Linked DNA regions of Homo sapiens: all the other regions are linked to region 2. The links are contacts of gene promoters, found by promoter capture Hi-C in blood cells and fetal thymus (Javierre and others, 2016). All regions are on one chromosome and are shown on one strand. Each heading gives the region's core, a stretch centred on a gene start or on the middle of the fragment in contact. The rest is flanking DNA. Distances are from core to core; before and after follow the strand shown. Region 1 holds the start of OSBPL1A (oxysterol binding protein like 1A). Region 2 holds the start of ZNF521 (zinc finger protein 521). Region 3 holds the start of TAF4B (TATA-box binding protein associated factor 4b). Region 4 has its middle 5.6 kb from the start of IMPACT. Region 5 has its middle 3.3 kb from the start of SS18.

What was found. Contacts are between HindIII fragments. The CHiCAGO score rates a contact against its expected background, and 5 or more counts as called.
Region 1: the fragment with the promoter of OSBPL1A here is called in contact with the fragment with the promoter of ZNF521 in region 2 in 1 of 17 cell types (monocytes); the score reaches 10.5 in monocytes.
Region 3: a contact is called between the fragment with the promoter of TAF4B here and the fragment with the promoter of ZNF521 in region 2, in 1 of 17 cell types (total B cells). The highest score is 5.4, in total B cells.
Region 4: a fragment that was not itself captured here is called in contact with the fragment with the promoter of ZNF521 in region 2 in 1 of 17 cell types (monocytes); the score reaches 7.3 in monocytes.
Region 5: a fragment that was not itself captured here is called in contact with the fragment with the promoter of ZNF521 in region 2 in 1 of 17 cell types (fetal thymus); the score reaches 5.1 in fetal thymus.

Annotation. Positions count from the first base shown.
Region 1 is chr18:24,396,574-24,399,273 of GRCh38, reverse strand. OSBPL1A (oxysterol binding protein like 1A) reads left to right here and starts at 1,450. Exons shown (of 28, transcript NM_080597.4): 1 at 1,450-1,619. The region is part of intron 2 of LOC124904268 (a long non-coding RNA gene); the gene reads right to left. RefSeq lists a silencer at 1,387-1,516. The HindIII fragment of the contact is 23,089 bases long and covers 1-2,700 here.
Region 2 is chr18:25,350,837-25,353,536 of GRCh38, reverse strand. It overlaps ZNF521 (zinc finger protein 521), which reads left to right and starts at 1,371. Exons shown (of 8, transcript NM_015461.3): 1 at 1,371-1,532; 2 at 2,590-2,630. The coding sequence starts at 2,591. RefSeq lists a silencer at 1,276-1,345. The HindIII fragment of the contact is 3,815 bases long and covers 612-2,700 here.
Region 3 is chr18:26,225,081-26,227,780 of GRCh38, reverse strand. It overlaps TAF4B (TATA-box binding protein associated factor 4b), which reads right to left and starts at 1,336. Exons shown (of 15, transcript NM_005640.3): 1 at 505-1,336. The coding sequence starts at 847. RefSeq lists a silencer at 697-856 and enhancers at 1,507-1,606, 1,637-1,706. The HindIII fragment of the contact is 8,704 bases long and covers 1-2,700 here.
Region 4 is chr18:24,419,759-24,422,458 of GRCh38, reverse strand. No RefSeq gene overlaps it. Among named protein-coding and RNA genes, the nearest start is that of IMPACT, 5.6 kb to the left of the region's middle. The HindIII fragment of the contact is 1,777 bases long and covers 511-2,287 here.
Region 5 is chr18:26,092,535-26,095,234 of GRCh38, reverse strand. No RefSeq gene overlaps it. Among named protein-coding and RNA genes, the nearest start is that of SS18, 3.3 kb to the right of the region's middle. The HindIII fragment of the contact is 1,644 bases long and covers 474-2,117 here.

The DNA of each region.
Region 1 (2,700 bases), core at 201-2,700, 950 kb after region 2:
AACTCCATCTCAAAAAAAAAAAAAAAGATGGTTCAATATCCTTAGATAGTAAGCCCTGAGGTTTCTTCTTTTCCAGACAAATACAGCTGCTTTAGTTACCACACATTTTGCAGTTGAAGTATTGTGCTAGTAAAGTGCCTGCTTTGTTAATAAAAGATGATGCCAGCCTGAGATACACCAGCAGGATTGCTTGTGGTATCCAAAAACATCATTTCAAAAGATCTGCCATATGCTGTTTCACACATATCACAATGACCAAAAGGGCCTATTATAGGTTCTCAATACATGCTTCTAGACTTGATGGAAAAACTACAGTCCTTTTAAAAATGATACCTATTTATTACTTTTTCATTGCAAAAGAACATGTTCATTAAATACATTTAGAAAATTCAGGAAAGCAGAAATCAGTTTTCGTATGCTCGTAATTTCCTGTCTTTTTAGTTATGCAGAAATGCTTTTAAAAAGCAAAGCTGTGGCCTGCAGGGGTGACTCACGCCTGTAATCCCAACACTTTGGGAGGCCCAGGAGTTGGAGACCAGCCTGGGCAACATAGGGAGAGTCTGTCTCTACTAAAAATACAAAACTTGTCCGGGCGCGGCAGGGCGCGCCTGTAGTCCCAGTCCCTTGATTACCCGCCTGTAGTCCAGCTGAGGCCGGAGGATCGCTTGAACCCAGAAGACGATGCTGCAGTGAGCCGAGATCGCGCCACTACACTCCAGCTTGGGAGACAGAGTGAGACCTTGCCTCAAAAAAAGAAAAAAACAAAAACGGTGGAATTATACTAGAGTTTGAACCTTCACGTTATAGACTATTTGCTAACTCCTCTAGCTAGACGCCTTGTGCATGGAATCTGGAGGAGAGGAGGTGAGGAAATTTTGTAAATCCTTGTCTCACGCATATCTATTCTATAATGGTTACACCTGTATGGCATTTTAAGCGCTTCCTTTCACAGGTGAAAGTAAAAGGAGGTGTTTTTTTGTAAATTGTCTAATTTACATTGCCAATTAAGTTCCCACGGGTCGAGTTGCAGCCAAAGCAAAAAAGAAAAAAATCTGGGCAGCTGGATAACCTATTGCTTAATGACAGACTTCAGACTATTAACCCAGGACTTATATTTTGCCTGGGGACGCGAGTCTTCCACTGGCTCACACGGGCGGTTCCTTGTAGTCTCCGGGTAAGGCCTGCCACTTCTTCCCTCGGGGTGTGGTGGGAGGAGCGCGAAGGCTTTACGCGTCCCTAGTAGCTGGCAAAACCTGGAACCAGCGCCGGTGGCCCAGGCGGGACAGGAGCGGGCCGGGGGCGTGGGCAGGCCAGGCAGGGGCGGGGAGTGGGCGGGGAACGGGCGTGTCCCCGCTGCGGTCACGTGTCGGGAGGGATGCCAGCTCGCCAGGAGGATGCGCGTTCCAGGGGCGGGCTGCGGGGAGGGGCGGCGCCACCTCGCGCTCCGCCGTGGTCCCGGCGCCGGGTCCCGGAGACAGACGTTACGCGGGCTCGAGCGTCCTCGGGGAGTGCCAGCCAGAGTTGGTGACGACCACTTCCTCGACGTGGGGCGGGCGGACGGGAAGCCTGGGGTCGTGGCCACCGCCTCGGGAGCTCTGGGAGCCCGGGTGACCGCGTAGGTCAGTTTCTCGCGGCTGTCCACGCCTGGAGTTCGAGGCCGGTTCCCGCGCTGACGGGTTCCCGCCGGGCTGCGCTCGGGAGGTCTGTCCGCGCCTGGTTGGGGGTGGGCGCTCCCGTCCCGGGCGTCTCAGAGGATGGTCGGGTCGTGGCGCGGCGACGCAGGGCTGCAGCCGAGCTCGGCTTCCCGGCGGCCGCTGGCTGCTCCAGCGCTGCAGGAAGTTAGGCGTTAAAAGTAACAAGATGTTGGCGTTTGTTGCACTTCCCACTCGGGTGCCACGACCATGCTGGTGCCGCATGCATCCCCTACCAGATCTTCAGCTGCGTGCCTTCTCGGTACTTTCGTGTGTCCATGTGACTTTTTAATTTCCTCCTAACAAGAGGAGGATTGATGCACAATGGAAGTCACGCATTGTTCATGTGACCGTTTCCCAATGTACCGCGTGGTCGGTTCTACAAGCATGAACGAATATCCAAGGGAGATTCTGAAACTGAATGAGAGCGCAGCTGCACAATAGACTTTAACAATTCACTTATCCCGCTGCCCTAATGATTGGCAGGAGGCATTGAAAAGGGTTATTCTGATTTAGTATTAGTTTTCAGTTCAAGTTGTCGTTTTTAGGCAGACGGTATTGTGAAATGGAACTGTGGGCAGTGTGATATTCTTAGCTTAAATAAGGTTGCTTGAATGTTGCAAATGTGGCTATTAGGTGTCTGTGAATAGTTAATAATATAATTAAATCAGCTTTAAAATCGGTGATGTGTTTTCCCTGAAAACTTCAGTCTTTGCCCTGTAATAGGTGCATTCTGGATTTGGAGTTTGGAACCTCCTCACCTCTTTACTCAGCATCTGGGAAATAATTTGCAGATTCGTTTTGAGGGGTAGAAGTATTTGCAGTCTAACCCCGATACAATGAATTTTTTGCAGCAGTTTGATAGGTATAAATTCTGAACCACCCCCCTCCCTCCCCACCCCAAGCTGGAATTGTGAAGATTTCTTAATTACAGCATAGTAACAAAATCCACCTTTTAATTCCCTAATTCTAAACCACTAGGTGGGCTTTGTCTACAGTTTATAGGGGG
Region 2 (2,700 bases), core at 122-2,621:
TTACTGCAGATGGATTGAAAACTCATTTAATTATAATGAAGATATTGAAAAAAAACATACTGTATTTGCAGCTATCCACATGAGGGTCCAGGCAGTTTACAGGTTAGACTGGAAAAAATACAACTTCCTTAAAGCTTTGATGTCTTTGCATGGTGGCTTAATAGATAGCTGTACCTTAATTTTACAGAACGGAGAATTTTTAAAATCTGATTAAGAACAATAGTATTTGTACAAAATTCTGCCTGTTTTGTGTAATTAACCGTATTCTGAATCTCTTAATTTCCACCAAGACTTGTGAATCTAAGCTCTACTTGGTAGCCCTCTCAGGCATTTATAACTTGACAAGCGTGTCCAATCAATAAATAGCAACAACAATAATAATACTAAAACATCCTTTCCCTTAAGATAAGGTAAAAGAAGGAAACAGGTGATGGTTTCTTGTTTTGCGATGGGAGCAGGTGAAAAGTTAGAAAACAAAACTGCGAAAAGAAACAAAAATTCCCACCGACCTGCAGACATTTCAATTTATTTTAGAAACTATTTTCTTGTACACATATTCTTAAGTGCATATTTCCTTACCTCTTGCTTAAAGAAAAAATCAACAGAAAGCTTTATTTTCTGGACAAAGATCTATGTCAATTTGAGAATGTTAAAAAAGTGAACTCAAAGCTGTCTCTTTTGAATCACATTATGACATTCGTCAGCATCAATGACTTTCTCTAAACGAGAAAATAAAAAAAAAGTCCAAATAACTTGCCTTTATAAAGATTCCAAGTAAGAGAGACTTGGCAGGTCTGCGGTTGCCATAAAAAAGATTTCCCGAGTCCGGGCAACAACAGCAGACACACTTTTTTAAAGTCCGACAATGCAAAAGCCAAGCAATGAATTTCCCCCCTCCTTTCTTTTTCTTTTTCTTTTTCTTTTTTTTTTTTTTTTTTTTTGCCCCCTCAAGAACAAATTGTTGCCTCCTTTTACATCCATCCTACCAGAAGGGGGACCTTTCCACTTTCAGATGCTCCTCTGCTTTAATTTCTGAAGAGGAAAAAAAGCGAGCAGAAGAGCCCCGAGATCCGCCGTGGAGCTCTAATAACGCAGCTGCGGCGGCGGCGACGGCGGCGGCGCGGGGTGTGCGAGCGGCCGGGCGGGCGGCGCGAGGGGCGGCGGCGCAGGAGCGGGCGGGGCGCGCGGCGCGTGGGAGGCGGCGGCGGCGGCGGCGGCGGCGGGCGGGGCTCGGGGCGCTCGGCCGCCGCCTGGCTCCGGATCCGCGCGCCGCGGCCGGCGCCTCCAGTCCGGGTCTTGGCGGGCCCCCTCCTCCCTCCCGCTCCCCGCGCTCTCGCCTTTTAATCATGCCCCTCTGTCTGTGTGTGAGTGCAGGCAGGCTGACAATGATTTCCTCAGTGATTACGTACAGAGCGAGTCCCTGCGGGTTAGGGGCCCCCTCTGGAGCCATCCTGATGGCTTTGGGGGCCTTGCTTCCATTTTCCATTATTATGTGGACTACCGGAGCGACAGCGCAGTCCAAGACCTTGCAGGTTTGTGATGAGGAGGGAGCACACAGCACACTCCTTCTCCTCCTCCTGCTCCCGGCTCTCCTCCTCCTCCTCCTCCTGCTCTCGCCGCCGCTGCCGCCGCCGCTGCCGCCGCTGCTGCCGCCGCCGCTGCCGAGGCAGCCGTAGACTTTAGAGCCCCGGTCCAGCGCCAGCCGCCGGCGCCGCGCCCCCGCCCAGAGAGGGGCGCCCCGAGCCCGGGCCCCGCACACCCCCTGCACACAAGCAGCCCCGCACACCACCTGGGGGCCGTCGGCTCGGGTGCTTTGGCTTTTTCTTTTTGAAAGAAATTACTTTAGTGTGGGTTAAGAAAAAAAGGGTGGGGGGAAGGGAGAAAAAAAGTATTTTTTTCCCTTTGCTTATTTTCGTGGCCCGTTCGCATCTGCCTCGGATGGTGGGAGATTTTTCTTTCCAAGACCTTTTCATCGCCTTGCAGGGTCGATTTCCCCCCCTCGTCCCCCCAACTACAAAAGAGCACGACTCGCTTTGTAAACAAATCAGTGTTATTTGTTTTTTTCCGGTGGGGGGGGGGGCGGATTTGTTGAAAAGGAAAAGCGGTAAAGAAAAAAAAAATCACCCAGACGCTTTTCTTTTTATTAGTTTTTTTCTATTCGCATGAACTATGTGAATTTTGATTGAGGTGGAAATAGTAACGGATTTTCTCTTTTTAGTGTAGCTGACGGCTCTTCAAACATTGTCTTTGGGGTTTTTTTTTTAGCTTTTTTTCCCTCCTTTCCTTTTTTCTTTTTCCTTTTTTTTTTTTTTTCTTGGAGATTGGGGGTGGGGGTCGAAGGCTGGGAAAGTTTGGTGCAGCAGCCGCCGCCGCCGCCGCCGCCGTCGTGCAGAGCGCGGAGCTCGGGCAGCCGCGAGCCCCGCGCGCGAGCGCGAGCCGGAGCCGGAGCGAGGAGCGGAGCGCGGAGCGAGGGCGCGAGGGAGGCCGAGCGGAGGGCGCGAGGCGCCGCGGCCCGAGGGGCGCGCGGCCACGAGGAAGTATAGTTTCTTTCAGGGCTGAATTGAAACAACTTCAGCTGTTTGCTTTTAGGATGTCTCGCCGCAAGCAAGCGAAACCGAGATCCCTCAAAGGTAAGGAGGAACCCCCTGCTCCCCGCTTTCCCCCATCCGCGAGTGTCACTGTGGGTAGCGGAGCGAGGGC
Region 3 (2,700 bases), core at 87-2,586, 870 kb before region 2:
CTTTGGGAGGCCGAGGCGGGAGGATCGATTGGGCCCAGGAGTTCGACGTCGGTGAGCCATGATCGTGTCACTGCACTCCAGACTGGGCGACAGAGCGAAACCATACCTCATTCGTTCATTCATTCATTCATAATTAATAAAATAAGTACAACGCACTTCTACATAATCTAAGCGTATGGAAATCCACGGTATAAACCGGTCCATCCTCCACATGGAAATTAACTTCGGCTATATTATCTCCTCCACCTAAGAGCCAGTGCCTGAAAGCCCCCCCGAATACGCTGATGTAGCTTTTTACTGTATCACTTAGGTGAAAAGATTCTTTCCTTAAATATGAAAAGAAAAACTATGTAGTAATGACACAAAAAGAATATGTTAACTGTAAAGTCAAGATTATGAAATGTTCCCGTGGCTCAGTTTTTTTAGGAGCAATCTGGAGCTGCGAATTTTCCCGTCGCCGCCAGCTGGACCGACAGACAAGGCTGGAAAGGGTTATCAACATACCTGGAGGAAGCTGCAAATTAGCAGGAAACTGGATTGTCGTGGTGTTGGGGGCTTTCACGGCGACTATCTGAGGAGCAGGCAGCCTAGGGCCGCTGCTGACTTTAGGAGGGGCGCTGACCGGAGCCACTTTGGTCACCAGGGTCCCCACGGGGGACCGCAGGGGCTGGGACGCCGTGGGCTCCACGCAGACGCTGACAGGAGCCTTAGTCACGGCGCCCAGGGCCACCGGAGTGCTCTCCACCCGCACCGGCAGCGCCCCGGCCGGGGCCATGGTCACGGTCCCCGAGGCGCTCACAGCAGCCGGGGGAGCGGCGCCGGCGGGTTCGGTGAGGCCGGCGGGCATCCCCCAGGGGCTCAGCGGCAGCTTTGGCGCTGCGGTTCCGGGAGCAGAGGTGAGGGGAGGCTTGGCGCGCGGCAGCCGACTCCGGTGCGGTTCGGGTTCCACAGCATCGCTGGGGAGAGGCGCGGGGGCCGCAGCAGCGAAGTCAGTGACGGGCGCCCGCTGCACGGCAGGACACGCGCGTCCCGGACCTTCCTCTCGTCCGCGCGAGCCTGGGCTGCCCCCGGAGCGACACCCGCCCGACCTCTCGCAGCTTCCTCAGCGGCGCTCACACGTGCGCTGCCTCAGCCCTGCGCCTCAGGCTCGGGTCCCGCTGCGGGGGAGCCTGGACTTGCGGCTCCCGGAAGGTCGTCGCTCACACCTCGAGCCTAACTGCGCAGCTGCTCCCCCGCCAGAAATTTCAAAACTACGAACCCCGAGTGCCCACAGCCCCCTACGCGCGATTGGCACGGCCCCGCCGCGCGGCCACGCCAGCCATGTTTATATAGCCACGCGGAGACCTCGCGCACGCGCCCAGGCCGCCGCCACCGCCCCGGGTTTCCCCGGGATCCGGCCGCGTGATTGGCCAAGGAGCGGAGCCGCGCCCGTGACGTCACTGGGGACGGCTCCAGGGAGCGTTAAAATCTTCCCCAGAATCGCCAGCAAGGAGGGGCGATGCCAGAAACCTATCACGTGGGAGGGGCAAGCTGCACTTGGAAAACTGCGGCATCCGTGTTCCTCTCCTTGTGTCCCCTGTAGTGTGTTCCTCGAAAAGCCAGCACTAGACTATCTCCAGGATTCTATTTTTTAAGGAGAAAATGGGGAGGACTGATTTCCGAGAAGAGTGACTCAATAAGAATTCAATCACGCATTTTCAGTGTTTTTCTCTGCTGTCTTCACACTGAAGCGTTGCTAAAATTCGCAGTTAGAATTGACATTGTAAAAATTAAAATGGCGTATAGTTTTATAGTCTGTGAGATGTGCCTATTTTCATATTTTAGAGTTAAACTGCCTAAAATCTTAAATGGAAAATCGTTTCTTCTTTGGTGCTGCTATAGGTGTCTCTATCACCTCTAAACATTAAAATTGTATGTCTGTCTTCTGAAAAACTTAATGCCTTTTGATATCTATATAATTAGATTCTAGCACTTAGATATTAAGCGTGATCCTAGATATTATCTGGATAAATAAAAGGTGTTGAGTGAATCGATATGAAAAAACTTGCCTGTTTGTAATGCAGTCAGAGAAGATGCCTTAATTTCAAGCTAAAGTCATTATATTGTATGTTTGTAGGAACCAACACTGCACTGAAAGGCGATTTTACAAGTAGGCAGATGCTATGATCTGAATGTTGTGGTGTTTTGTTTTGTTTTGTTTTGTTTTGTTTTGTTTTGGAAACAGGATCTAACTCTGTCACCCAGGCTGGAGTGCAGTGGCACCATTGGCTCATTGCAGCCTCCACCTCCTGGGCTCAAGTGATCATCCTACCCTCCTACCTCAGATTCCCGAGTAGCTGGAACCACAGGGGAGCGGCACTATGCCTAGCAAAAACGGGATCTCGTTATATTGTCCAGGCTGGTCTCCAATTCCTGAGCTCCCGCCTGGGCCTCCCAAAGTGCTAGGATTATACCCCCAACTGAGTGTTAAAATGCTAAAGCTGGAGTTGATAATATTAGAAGGTTGGGCCTTTGAAAGGTGATTAGATCATAAGGGTGGAGCCCTCATGAATGGGATTCCATTCAGGACAAATCATGTTAAAGTGATGAATATGTTAACTTGATTTAATTATTTCACGACACATACAAATGTAACATGATACCTCATAAATACATACAATTATTATTTGTTAGTTAAATACATTAAATAAATAATTTTTT
Region 4 (2,700 bases), core at 150-2,649, 930 kb after region 2:
CACCTCAGCACCCCCAAGTAGCTGGGACTACAGGCACACGCTACCACACCAGGCTAATTTTTTGATTTGTTTTAGAGTGGAGGTCTCACTATGTTGCCCAGGCTGGTCTCAAACTCCTGGGCTCAAGCGATCCTCCTGCCTCAGCCTCCCAAAGTACTGGGATTACAGGCGTGAGCCACAGCGAAGGCCCTTTCCTCTACTTGTTTCTCAACATTCACTCAGGATCAGATTAGTATCGGTGTGATGGTTCTCTGAGCCTCTTCAAGTTCCTTCCCAATTTTCTACAGGCATTTCCCCTAACACATTTCTTGCATATTTAACTTCATTTTGGTATCTTCCTCTCCAAGAAGACTAGAACAAACTGCTCTAGGATACACTGTAACACAGGCAAATTCTGTCCATATGGTTTTGTTAAAATAATTAATTGGGAGGCCATGAGGCTAAGACAGTTCCATTGCCTTGTGTTTCTGAGTAAGCAAACAGAAATAGAACTCAGTGTAAACTTAAGCTTAACCAATCAGAAACCACTAAGTGACATCTAACTAGGGACTTTCTAGTTTAAGCCATCAAATATTTTCTTTATCTTGCTTCTGCAAACACCTTAGAAAAATTTCTCCCTCCCACCAATTTAGTGGAGTGTTGAACTGTTTGAGCTCTGGTGCTGCGTGATTCATGAATAGCTTCATTCTCAAACTCGTGACAATTTTAATGTGTTTATCTTTTAACAATATTAACTTACAATATTATCTGGTTCTGAAATATTTTTCTTAGGGAAATATGTCCTCAAAATATTTTAGAAACAAAACACAAACCATCTTAGTACACAATGATCTTTTCCCTCCTGTTCTCTGTGTGTTTACCTTAGCTCCCAGACAATGAAAGCCAAAATATAGCTGACTACAAGGACAATGAATGCTGAGGCTCTTCCTTCTCTTTGTGCTGTTCATTTGCTTACTCAATAATTTGACCCACTATGGCTGAAGATTAAAATACTGGATATTAAACTATAAGTTTTATGGAGAAGTTCTTGTCAAAGAAGTAATCAAGGAAACAGAGTCAATGTCAAGCAAGCAATTAGGGGAGAGAGAAAATCCTTTAATATTATAATTTCACCATAAGTAACACTGTATCCTGGGAAGATTAGCTGATAATTGTATAAACATAGTTAGAAAAAAATAATAGAGCCTGGCCTGGCATGGTGGCTCATGCCTGTAATCCCAGCACTTTGGGAGGCCGAGGCGGGCGGATCACTTGAGGTCGGGAGTTCAAGACCAGCCTGGCCAACATGGTGAAACCCCATCTCTACTAAAAATACAAAAATTAGCCAGGCATGGTGGCGTGTGTCTGTAATCCCAAATACTCTGGAGGCTGAGGCAGGAGAATCCGGGAGGCGGAGGTTGCAGTGAGCTGAGATCCCACCACTGCACTCCTGTCTGGGTGACAGAGCGAGACTCTGTCTCAAATAAATAAATAAATAAAATAATGGAGCCAGAGGCATTTCCTGACTTCAGGAGATTTGAAGGGAATGGAAGAGTGGCATCTCAGGTGTTATGTTAGAGTTCACCTAGAGAGGAACTGTGCTGTGTGGTAGGGACCCTGTTACACCACCTCCAGTCAGCACCCCCTTTTCAGAAACAGGTACTCCTATCCCCCAAGCAGTTTTGCAAGTACTTCATTGACCGCTACGGCAGGTTTGTTTCCCCAGTAACAGCATGTTCAAACAAGTGTTCCACAGTAATTCATCCGCCTGTAATCCTAGCACTTTGGGAGGCCAATGCAGGTGGATCACTTGAGCTCAGGAGTTTGAGACCAGCCTGGGCAACATGGTGAAACTTCATCTCTACAAAAAACACAAAAATTAGCTGGGCGTGGTGGCTCATGCCTCTAGTCCCAGCTACTTGGGGGGCTGAGGCGGAAGGATCAATTGAGCCCAGGAGGAGGAGGTTGCAGTGAGCCAAGATTGCTCCATTGTACTCCAGCCTGGGCAACAGAGTGAGACTCTGTCTCAAAAAAAGAATTAAATCTGATCTTTTTATTTTTTCATTTTCAAGAAGCATCTTCTTAATGAATAAACTTCTAGAAGGGATAGTTACAAGTTCTTTTGTTAATTATTCATTGAAACTTTAGCAAGGATTGGGTTATAGCCAACGGAGAACAGGTTCTTGGGTGGGAGTGGGAGTGGGTAAAGCCAGAGATAAGCCTTCCTCAGCACCATGCACCCTTAACTGCCACACTTGACTTCCTTACCTCTTTACGTGACATCTCAAATTTTTTCCCTCCAGAAGCTTTTTTGACTAAAAGTAGAAAATGGCCGTATGATTAGCTTCCCCATAACCTCAAAATCAATATTCAGAGGAGATGTGTGTGAAGTCAAAATTGTTGGTTAAGAAATACAAGTTATTTGCTTTTCCCTTTTGCCTCTGAGTGGAATGTTCTTCCCTTAAATCTTCAAATGGCCGTCGTGTGTGTGTGTTTGTGTGTGTGTGTGTCAGTCTCACTCTCACACAGGCTGGAGTGCAGTGACCTGATCTTGGCTCACTGCAACCTCTGCCTCCTGAGCTCAAGTGATTCTTGGGCCTCAGCCTCTCAAGTAGCTGGGATTACAGGTGCTCACCACCACGCCTGGCTAATTTTTGTATGTTTAATAGAGATAGTGTTTCACCGTGATAGCCAGGCTGGTCTCAAACTCCTGATCTCAGG
Region 5 (2,700 bases), core at 46-2,545, 740 kb before region 2:
CAGAATAACCGCATATCATGCCCAAGGGCACAGAACATGCTAAATGTGAAAAAAGAACATTTGATATTTAAGGTCAGCAGATTTCCCAAGGGTAGACTGCCCTATCAAGTACTTTGGATTATAGTCCTAAAATGTCCATTTTTCCTAATTATATTATTACATTGCAAATCTTGTCCTTGTTTAGTAATTTACAATATCCCATTAATTTTTACACACTTTATATGTTAAAATTGAGACAGTCTTAAAGGATCTAATGGAAGGTAATCGTTTAATTAAGGGATCTAATGTAAGGCACAGAGGCTAGTGCATAATAAATGCTAAATAAAAAAACATTATTTGTAATAGCTTTTTAGATATGGCAGCTGTTTTTCAGGAAGTCCAGTGAGATACAGAAATGACCTGTCCAGTATTATGCCATGGGTAGAAGAATTGGGAACTCCAAACCTATGCATCTTTCACAAAGAGTGAAAGCTTTCCATAGGAACTAATTTTTTTAAAAAGCAATACTTTTCTATATCATTAAACCCAAAAATATAATTGATTCAGTTCATAATTAATTCTATATTTGGCACTATAAGAGGAGATGAAAATGCCTCCAATAGGCTTTGTTATAGTCTACTTTGAATGAAATCTTCCATAGTATCAAAAATAAAAGTCCTTTACGGAGAATTGGGAAAGGTGATTTGTTCTTGCCTGAATAATGATTATATAAATATATAGATGTATGCTTCTTTCTTTACAGTCTTGAAATCTGTGGGAGCCACAACTCAAATTGACTCATCAAATGCCACAGGGACTGTGAACAGAAATATTTTGAAAGATATTACCTGAAGGGTTTTGCTCTGAGCCCAGTTATGAGCAGACAGGCTTGGTCTATGCCTTCTCAATGTATTCTAAGAATTTATGACAGCTCAGGGGCTTAAAATATCAGCACATTTGGTAGTGCAGATACTCTATTAATTCTAAAACAATACATATTAAAGAAATGCTTGTATGAAAGCAAGATTATTTTAGTTACCTATTCGTACATATTTTTTGTGGATTAAGATAATTTTTAATGCCATGATTATATAGTTTCACCAAATATTGAACATATTACAGGAGCACTTCACTTTGTCAATTCATAAAAATATATTTAAGGAATACACGGTCAGGTGTGGTAGCTCATGTCTGTTCTCCTAGCACTTTGGGAGGCCAAGGTGGGTGGATCGAGACCAGGAGTAAAGCAGTTCAAGAACAGCCTGAAAAAAATGGTGAAACCCTGTCTCTATCAAAAAATACAAAAATTACCCAGGCATGGCGGTGCATGCCTGTAGTCCCAGCTACTCGGGAGGCTGAGGTGAGAGGATCGTTTCAGCCTGGGAAGTCGAGGCTGCAATGAGCTGAAATTGTGCCACACTCCAGCCTGGGTGACAGAGTGACACCCTGCCTCAAATATATATGTGTGCGTGTGTATGGGGGGCGGGGTGTATTTTAAGGAGTACAAATTTATATAAAAATTGAAACAAAAAATCAAACATGAACAATTTTTTTTAATCTTTGTTAAATCTGCCTACTTCATATTCATTAGTGTGAGTAATCAAGAATTAACTGTTCACACAGATTATTTTTCTTATTCTGACCCACTCTATATGTTCTTCAATTTAGGATTATTCCAAACTCCTTCTACCTCTTGGTTATGTGAGTTGGATTCCTTCTTTAGATGTCTCTCATTCAAGAGCAGTTTAAATAGTGGGACTGATTTTTTTGGTTGGGGAGATGGTTGCCTGAGTATCTTACCTTTAAGTCCTTAGAGTCCTTTCCCAGTCTTAGGCCAACTTCCCATATTTGTTCTCCTTTTCTTCGTAACTAAATGCTAGGGACTGTTTATTCTCCTTCTACCAACTCTGCTGCCACTCAGTCTACCTTGGGATTCCTCTTAAAACTAGTGGTCAGGTGAGATGGGACTTATTATGTTCCCCTAAGTATCCCCTAGCTCAGGACTCTTACATTACAAAGGCCCCAAAATTTTAAGAAAGATCTTCCAGGCTTCAGTCTCAATCTTTCCTCTTTCCGAATTTTCTATTTTTCCAGGTCAGGCTAACTGATTGGATTGATTGGGTTTTAGCAAGGAAGCTTGAGGGTGAAGTAGTTCTTTTTAAGTATCCTCTCTCAAGGAGATCATTTGTATTTCTGGCTGGACTTATAGAACAATGCTTTTCAACTGATTTCATGTGATCAGACACAGAAAATAATGGTATCTTTATGGCATACATGGTGTCACAGAAAAGACTGTGGCTATCCATGCCTGCAGGCTATGGGTTCTCTGGGCCCTACCCTGCTACTCTGAAGAAATAAACATCTCAGGCCAACTGTAACCTGTTTTCAGTGGATTTCCCTTTCTCACCTTTGGGGAGCTGTAATTTAAATAAAGAAGGTAACTAGCTCCAGGTGCCTCCCTGGAATAGAAGCCCCCTTGGACTACTTATTTTTTTGCTGGGATATGGAAATTAGACAAGTGTTCCTACTGGTTCATGTTGCCCTTTGAAGTTTCAGTGCTATCTGCCAAATGCACAGAACTGGAGCAGTAGGACTATTTACGATTCATGTTTCCTATTGAAATACTGTTCTTAGCTACTAAGTACTAAGGTACTTTTGTGTAAAGCATTGAGACATGACTCTGCATGCTAGGTGTTGAGTGCACAGTGATAGTGGTAGACA